Linked DNA regions of Homo sapiens: region 1 is linked to region 2. Evidence: promoter capture Hi-C in 16 types of primary human blood cells and fetal thymus (Javierre and others, 2016). All regions are on one chromosome and are shown on one strand. Each heading gives the region's core, a stretch centred on a gene start or on the middle of the fragment in contact. The rest is flanking DNA. Distances are from core to core; before and after follow the strand shown.

The links. Contacts are between HindIII fragments. The CHiCAGO score rates a contact against its expected background, and 5 or more counts as called.
Region 1: a contact is called between a fragment that was not itself captured here and the fragment with the promoter of YIPF4 in region 2, in 1 of 17 cell types (total CD4 T cells). The highest score is 5.0, in total CD4 T cells.

What each region holds. Positions count from the first base shown.
Region 1 is chr2:31,859,820-31,864,644 of GRCh38, reverse strand. No RefSeq gene overlaps it. Among named protein-coding and RNA genes, the nearest start is that of LINC01946, 58 kb to the right of the region's middle. The HindIII fragment of the contact is 6,102 bases long and covers 1-4,825 here.
Region 2 is chr2:32,275,302-32,279,868 of GRCh38, reverse strand. It overlaps YIPF4 (Yip1 domain family member 4), which reads right to left and starts at 1,965. Exons shown (of 6, transcript NM_032312.4): 1 at 1,635-1,965. The coding sequence starts at 1,713. RefSeq lists a silencer at 1,758-1,867 and an enhancer at 2,105-2,850. The HindIII fragment of the contact is 1,217 bases long and covers 1,337-2,553 here.

The sequences.
Region 1 (4,825 bases), core at 1,314-3,813, 420 kb after region 2:
TTACTATTTTCCTCTGCAATTGTAGCACAAAAGCCACCATAGACAATGTGTAATCAAATGAATGTGAATGTGTTCTAATAAAAGTTTATTTACACAAAGATGGTGAGCTGGATTTGGCCTGTGGGCCATAATTTGCTGTCTCCTGTCATAGATGGTGCCGTTTGTAGTTCAAAAGTTGGCAAATAATCTAAACTGCAAAAAGCGGTGGTAAGTTTTTGCCATCACAATCCTGTCTTATTTTGATGTAGTCAGATTGACTGGTTGGAGTGTTATTTAGGATCATAAAGGTAAGTGGGAAATGGGTATGGGAAACTAAGAAGTCTTGGAAATTAGTGTTGAATAACTTTGAAGCCCTTTTATTTGCTGGAATCCATTGGGAGGTTTACTTTGCTGCAATAAACTAATCAAAAAAGTGATCGGTGGAGCTTGTGATTGGTTGTTGCAAATTCTTTAAATTATTCTAAGTGCTTGGCTACCTAGATGATAGCAGAAGCTAGATCAGATGAACCTTTTTACCTGAGTATTTTAGGACACTAGACCAACATTTTTAAAAAGGACTGTGAAATGTAAAACTTAATTTTGCCGTGTAAGGACTTTTGAAAAGACAACTACTATCTTCCCTTACCATTTTATTTTAAAAGTGACTCCCAATATTTAGGAAGGACTTAAACTCAGAGTAATAGAGTAATTTAACTTGAATAACTTTAAGTTAATGAAAAAATTACTACACTGGTATTTTCTCATTTACTCTGCATCACTGAAAAATTTATCGAGTTAATTAGTCCATAGACTGGCATTTGGGAAGTGCTATAATACAGTTGTTGAAAGAACTAGTGTACTTACAAAGCTGATATTGACTAGTAGATTAATAAGCCACATGTACACTGTTACTGAGATTTAAGACGTTTTTATTGTGTTAAATTGTAAGTGCCATGTATTAAAGGGGACACTAAGAACTATAGTGTCTATAAGGAATGATAAAAGGCTTTGATAGTCTAGAGAGTGAGATGTGGTTGAAGAAATTGGTGAGTCTTATTTTTGAGAAGGTAAGTTTAAAGATAGGGAGTTTTCTTCAGATTGAGTGACCTTCATATATGAGAAAGAATAGTATTTGTTCTGTGTTGTTCTGGGTAGAAAAATTATAAGAAATGGGAGCTTCTGGTTTTACGTTGAATATTCTCTAATGAGAATTCTTTCCTTTCCTTTTCCTTCCTCCCTTTCCCCTCCCTTTTCTCTCCCTTCCCCTTCCCCTCCCCGTTCCCTATCCCTCCCCTTCCCCCTCCCCCTCCCCTCCCTCTCTTTCCCCGCCTCTCCCCCAGTCTCGCTCTGTTGCCCCAGGCTGGAGTGCAGTGGCATGATCTCTGCTCACTGCAACCTCTGCCTCCCAGGTTCAAGCAATTCTCCTGCCTCAGCCTCCTGAGTAGCTGGGATTACAGGCGCCCGCCACCATACCTGGCTAATTTTTGTATTTTTAGTAGAAACGGGGTTTCGCCATGTTAGCCAGGCTGGTCTTGAACTCCTGACCTCAGGTGATCTGCCTGCCTCGGCCTCCCAAAGTGCTAGTATTACAAGTGTGAGCCACTGCACCCAGCCTCTTTCTTTCTTTCCTCCTTTTTCCCTTTCTTTTCTTTCTTTCCTCCTTTTTCCCTCTTTTCTTTCTTTTCTTCCTTCCTCCCTCCCTCCCTCCCTCCCTCCCTCCCCACCTCCCCCCAATCCCATTTCTCTCTCTCTCTGTCTCTTTCTTTCAAGACAGGGTTTCACCATGTTACCCAGGTTGGTCTCAAACTCCTGGGCTCAAGAGATCCACTCGCCTTGTATAATGAGAATTTCTAATAATGAGAATTTTACTTTGTCCTCATAAAAGCATTAGAAGTATTCAGATAAAAGCTAGATTGGTGATTATCGAAGTAGAGTCCCTGGACTATCAACATCAGTATCACCTAGAGATGTGTAATTATGATCACCAAGCTAAAAAAAGCTAGTATACAAGTAAAATGGAACTTATTTGTATAAAACTGTTGAGAAGTTATTTTTAAATCAAAATTGATTTTGACCATTTAACACTAACTTTAAACACAGAGATTATAAATTGATGATTATTGCTTTATTGTTACTAGGGTAACACTGGTGTACCAGTTACTGGGGGAACCTTAGAATAATTAATTATTCTGTTTTAGTTAAAACATTTAAATATAGGGCAGAGTTCTACCATTTCCTAAAATAAAGTTGGTCTTTGAATGAATGACTCAATTAAACAGAGCTGCTTTTTCAATCTAAAACACAGCCATATCAGTTGGCAGAAAAGGAACTTGAAGGACTGGTTTTTTTATACCTATTAATGTCAAAATATTAGGATAACCTGGAGCAGCTGTCACATAAGACGTTTTCCTATCTACTTCCTGTTCTAGTATCCCACCACATACCAGTACATACAGCTGAGTGGCATGGCATACTGTCATCTATAGCTATGCTACACATTTTGACAAAGCTCTCTCAAGTAATGCTGATAACTGGAACCTCTACCTCTTTAAAGTCACTGTTGAGGATGGATTTGTTTGCCTATCCTGTCTTCAAGTATTCATTAGTACTATGTAAAGAACTTTGGAGTTTCAGATTTGTCATTTATTCTAGGGTTCTCTGATGATTCCAGAGTGGTTTGTATCCAGGATGTATCACATTTACTGTGTATGTGTGTGTACTCTGTGTGTGTGTGTGTGTGTGTGTGTGTGTGCGCGCGCGCGCGTGCGTGCGCACATGTATTTAATTCTAATGCAAAATTTTGGCAATCACTATAAAAATAATGAAAAGAATTTTAAAAGCCAGTTTGTCTGAGTTTGAAAGGTATGCTATAATGCAGTTGTTTTTTTATTATTAATTGTAAATTATGTTCAAATGAACATTTCTCACTGCAAAGTTCAGTTTGTAATTTTATTAGATGTAGTCATATTTTTTCCCTGTCATCCTAATAATGAAACCAAAGAGAATCTAAACACCGTTATTAAGCTATTGAAGGCCAAGAGAGGCAACTATAAGCAGGATTGAATTCATTGGGCATGCAGCGAAAGCACATTTTATTTAACTTTAAAAATTTTTTAATTTGACTACATCTAATAAAATTAAAAATTTTAATCTTTAAATTGGTCTTTGTAAACTTCTGAAAAAATTTTAATATTTTTGTCTGATATTCTGAATTAGTGAATGTGATGTTACATTTTAGTAGAAAGTAGTAAAACGATGAAAACAAAAATTAGATCATACTAAGTTTTGCGAGTTTTTAAACATTAAATCCTTAGACTTGAATTTGACTTAATAAAAGTATTGTTAACTATTTTATAAATGGAAGTTTTTTTCTGAGAATTTTTTTTTCATTTAAAATTTTTTATTTGGCCAGACACGGTGGCTCATGCCTGTAATCCCAGCACTTTGGGAGGCTGAGGTGGGAGGACTGCTTGAGTCCAGGAGTTTGAGACCAGCCTGAGCAATATAGTGAGACCGCGTCTCTACAAAAAAAAAAAAATTAAAATTAAAATTAAAAAATGAGCCAGGTGTGGCAGCATGCACCTGTACTCTCAGCTACTCAGGAGGTTGAGGTGAGAGGATCGCTTGAGCCCGAGAGGCGGAAGTTGCTGTGAACTGAGATTGCACCACCACAGACTCCAGTCTGGGTGACAGAGCGAGACTGTCTCAAGAAAAAAAAATTATTATCAATTTGAATTTAGCACAGAATAGATATTCAGTTGCTGTTTGTTCAGTTTCAATGAATTGAATTTTGAAGGAAGGAGAACAAAAGATAATCTTCATGTGAAGTGTTTTCTAAAGGTCAGGAAAGCATAAACCTTTTCACTGGAAGCATCTTTTAATTGGCTTTTTTCATTTTCAATGATTATGGAAATCATTGTCCTCAGTAACTTTAAGGTAGGGTAGAATTTAATATTCCTAGGCTGTATATTTGATGCTAAATGAAATAAATTGTAATGTAAGTTATCTGGTACAATTGAACCTGTTGGCCCATGATTCCTAGCTCATATTTGGCAATGTCCGATGGTGTTTACCATTACTTGAAGGTGTTGAAAAATTTTTTAAAGTTAAATAAAATGTGCTTTAGCTGCATGCCCAATGACATGTCCAGCCAACTCTCAAGTAAAAAGATACTTATGGAGTGTTAGAAATTCTGGACTAGAATCTGTTTACAACTTTGCTGGTGAGTTGCTACTGGTTTGCTAGAACGAGTCACTCTTCCTTTCTAGATTAGAGTTTATTTCTTTATTAATGTGAGTTAGAATTGAATAATATTACTTCTAAGGGTCTTTCCACCTTTGACTTTTTAGGACATGAATGAAAACACCTTATTTATTTAATGTATTGTACTTTAACATTTTTAAATCTGTTTCACAACATTTCCCCTGCTCTGTTAATCTCAAGGATTACAGGCCAGACATTGTTACCTTAATTTTACTGTTACAGTATGTGAGACACATACAAATTGCATAACTTCCTTTTGTTTATGTAGCTAGTTAGTATCAGATATAGGATAAACATTCAGTTCTTCTGATTTATTTATTTTGAGACAGTCTTACTCTGTTACCCATGCTGGAGTGCAGTGGTGTGATCTCGGCTCACTGCAGCCTCTGCCTCCCACGTTGAAGCTATTCTCATGCCTCAGCACACAGAGTAGCTGGGATTACAGATGTGCGCCACCATGCCCAGTTAATTTTTGTGCTTTTAGTAGAGATGGGGTTTTGTCATGTTGGCCAGGCTGGTCTTGAACTCCTGGCCTCAAGTGATCCACCCACTTCGCCTCCCTTAAGCTGGGATTACAGGCATG
Region 2 (4,567 bases), core at 716-3,215:
CTATGTTCCCTTTGATAGACAAAAATTTTATTGTACATTTTAAATTATGACCAGTACTATTTTTAAAAAACAATGCCAAACAGCACAACAAGAAAAACAAAAGGGAAAACAAGCTATACTGATACACCATAAAATTTCTTAGGAAAATCTAGGTTCTTTCGGCCGGGCGCGGTGGCTCACGCCTGTAATCCCAGCACTTTGGGAGGCCGAGGCGGACGGATCACGAGGTCAGGAGATCGAGACCATCCTGGCTAACACTATGAAACCCCGTCTCTACTAAAAAAAAATACAAAAAAAAAAAAAATTAGCCGGGCGTGGTGGCGGGCGCCTGTAGTCCCAGCTACACGGGAGGCTGAGGCCAGAGAATGGCGTGAACCCGGGAGGCAGAGCTCGCAGTGAGCCGAGATGGCATCACTGCACTCCAGCCTGGGCGACAGAGCGAGACTCAGTCTCAAAAAAAAAAAAAAAAAAAAAGGAAAATCTAGGTTCTTTCTCAGACTGAAATTTCTGTAAACATAATTTATGATTTCATAGCAGCCAGTAAGTCTGGTCACTGGAAAATAACTGGTGCACGAAGTGTAATAAAAATTTGAAAATGGCCGGGGCGCGGTGGCTCACGCCGGTAATCCCAGCACTTTGGGAGGCCGAGGCGGGCGGATCACGAGGTCAGGAGATCGAGAGACCATCATGGCTAACACGGTGAAACCTCATCTCTACTAAAAATACAAAAAAAATTAGTCGGGGGTGGTGGCGGGTGCCTGTAGCCCCAGCTACTCGGGAGGCTGAGGCAGGAGAATGGCGTGAACCCGGGAGGCGGAGCTTGCAGTGAGCCGAGATCGCGCCACTGCACTCCAGCCTGGGCGACAGAGCTCAAGAAAAAAAAAAAAATTGAAAATGACTAGCAGAATAATATCCAGGTTATGAGTTGGATAGGGAACTGAGAATAGGAGGGAAACATTCTCCTGTGCTGTAGGAAAATATCTCCAGCACAATCGCTTCCTCAGAATAATACAAGGAAATCTGTAGAGGCTACTGGAAACACATTGTTGGTTTACACTAAACTTCCAATATACCTGCGTCAATTTCTCTGAATACTGAGGTGAAACATTACAAAATGCGAGGAAAACGGGGACTCGGGCAAGACATCAAATTCAATAAAAACCATTTAGTTTGTATTTGCAGTGCCGAATCTGATCCCAGACCCCCCCCAAAAAATTATCTGTTGATACATAACAGAAGAAAACAGCCCTCCTTCCTTTTTCTCATTCTTTGAGATCTCCCTTGGCCAATCTGTCCTTTTTCTGAGTAAGGGCGAGTAATTCCAGAACTAAAAGCTTAGGATTTTGTGGGTCCAATTGAAGAGACTAAGCCACCCAGAAAAACCAGCCACCAGACGGTATGGGGAAAACCAAGGGCTGACCGAGTAACTTGATGCTTTAAAAAGCAGCTCCCTACACCCCTCCCTCCGTCCTTCGGGGCCTCTCGGAAGGCCCGGCAGGCGTGGTGGGCTGCAGTCACCAGTCAGCTTCCTGCCTGTCCCCACCCGGCCACGACCACCTCGGCACCAGAAAGACCCTACGGCGTCGGGCCCTGGCTTCCTCCGGGTGATAGCCCTTCCAGGGGCTCAGCCTCACCTTCCGCGTCTGCTGAGGAGACAAAGGTGAAGTCCCCGTTAGTGGGGGCATAGGCCGGGGGCGGGCCCGGAGGCTGCATCTCGCGGCGACTCCCAACCGGCCGCGGTAGAAGAGGCTGCGGCTGGGCCCAGACCCCGAGGCGGCCGCGGCGGCGACCCGCACGCTCGCCCTACGGTGCGGCCTACGAGTCTCGACGTGCAAGCTGCGAGCGAGGCCAGAAACGGGCACAGCGGGCCGCTGAGCTGCCCCGAGACTACCCCACCAAAGTCTTCTTGGTGGCGACCACCCAAGCACCACGACGCCGGCACCCTGACAGGACCATAACAGTGACAGCGGCGCTGGGATTGGCTCTTTGTAATGTGCTCTCCCATTGGCTCCCGGAGGAAGATTCTGATTGGGTCTTCCTGTTGTTGATTCCGGAAGTTTACCCAGGACAGGAAGTTCACTTGTAATTCGTGGAAATCTCAGGCCTCTTTTTCCTCCTTGGGTGCTTTTGTTCCTTTAAGTGCGATCTTTCCTGGCGTTTTGTTTACCTATTACCTCCGTTTTTGTTAAGTGGGTGGGTTAAAGAATTTTAGAACTAGGTAGATTTTATGGGTCAGCCGCCGTACAGGATCTCAAGATTCCCTTGCCATTAGCCATTAATTAATAGTGTAGGATCTTGACTAAGTTATATGTAATGTCTGGATGGCAGTTTCCTCACCTGTAAGATGAAGAGGGATGGATCGGAGAATGAAGATAAAAGGCAGAGAAGCCGTAAATCGCCACCCAGAGACTAGGGCTGTAGATACATTCCTTTATGAGGGAGAAAACTGAGGCCAGAGAAAGTAAGGTAGAAACAGATTTAGGACAGTACCTAAATCTCCTAATTTCTAGTCAAGTGCTCTTTTCACTGGAAGGCCCTGTCTACTGATAAGCTTGCCGAAGTTAACAAACTCACCTGCTTTTAAATGTTTACATACGTAACTTTAATATTCAAGCTACATAAATGTGGCTTCCAACTTGAAGAAAGAGGGGTTGGGGTATATTAGGAGGCCAACTTGGAGAAATACACAATTGATCAGCAATAGAGCAATCGAGAGACATGTCTATTAGTGTGTTAAATGGTATTTCTGGAAAATTTTCTCACAGGAGGTAACATGTTGGTACTTAAAGGATGAGTAAATGTAGTGGTTTTGTTTGTTTTAGAGACAAGGTCGCTCCGTTACCCAGGCTGGAGTGCAGTGGTGCAGTAATAGCTCCTTGTAACCTCACACTCCTGGGCTCAGGCAGTCCTCCCAACTCAGCTATCTAAGTAGCTGGGACTACAAGCCCCCTGCCACCATGTTTGGCTAATATTTATTTATTTATTTATTTATTTTTGAGACGGAGTCTCATTCTGTCGACAGGATGGAGTGCAGTGGCGCGATCTCGGCTCACTGCAACCTCCGCCTCCAGGGTTCAAGCGATTCTCCTGCCTCAGCCTCCCGAGTAGCTGGGACTACAGGTGCCTGCCACCACGCCTGGGTAATTTTTTGTATTTTTAGCAGAGACGGGGTTTCACCATGTTAGTCAGGATGGTCTCGATCTCCTGACCTTGTGGTCTGCCTGCCTTGGCCTCCCAAAATGCTGAGATTACCGGCGTGAGCCACTGCACCCAGCCCGAATATAACCATTTTTTAAAACATGCCAATTTGATGGGTGATTGTGGGGAAAAGAAAGAGAGATCAGATTGTTACTGTGTCTGTGTAGGAAGAAGTAGACATAGGAGACTCCATTTTGTTCTGTACTAAGACAAATTCTTCTGCCTTGAGATGCTGTTAATCTATAACCTTAGCCCCAAACCCGAACTCTCTGAAACATGTGCTGTGTCAACTCACGGTTAAATGGATTAAGGGCTGTGCTAGATGTGCTTTGTTAAACAGATGCTGGAAGGCGGCATGCTCCTTAAGAGTCATCACCACTCCCTAATCTCAAGTACCCAGGGACACAAACACTGCGGAAGGCCGCAGGTACCTCTGCCTAGGAAAGCCAGGTGTTGTCCAAGGTTTCTCCCCATGTGATAGTCTGAAATATGGCCTCGTAGGAAGGGAAAGACCTGACCGTCCTCCAACCCGACACCCGTAAAGGGTCTGTGCTGAGGAGGATTAGTATAAGAGGAAGGCATGCCTCTTTGCAGTTGAGACAAGAGGAAGGCATCTGTCTCCTGCCCATCCCTGGGCAATGGAATGTCTTGGTATAAAACCCGATTGTATGTTCCATCTACTGAGATAGGGGAAAACTGCCTTAGGGCTGGAGGTGGGCCATGCGGGCAACAATACTGCTCTGTAAGGCATTGAGATATTTATGTGTATGCATATCTAAAGCACAGCACTTAATTCTTTACCTTGTCTATGATGCAGAGACCTTTGTTCACGTGTTTATCTGCTGACCTTCTCTCCACTATTATCCTATGACCCTGCCACATCCCCGTCTCTGAGAAACACCTAAGAATGATCAATAAATACTAAGGGAACTCAGAGGCTGGCAGGATCCTCCGTATGCTGAACGCTGGTCCCCTGGGCTCCCTTATTTCTTTCTCTATACTTTGTCTCTGTGTCTTTTTCTTTTCCAAGTCTCTCGTTCCACCTAACGAGAAACACCCACAGGTGTGGAGGGGCAACCCACCCCTTCAGGTGACACATATTTTATTGTTTTAAATTTCATGTTATTTGTTTTAACTAAATGATGATATTTCTAAGTACTAGAAAAATGGACAGAATCCTGAGTGGGTGGAAGAGACACGACGTGAATGAAAGGAGATGTCTTTAATTTTGAATTAATACTAGTGAAAGAAGAATATAATGTAACAAACTGTAGTTTGAAGGTAAATAAACCCCATTTGATTAACATTGTATTTACAGCCAGGAACCTGATGTTGTGCACACTTAGATGAAAGGGCAATAACTCAGAAA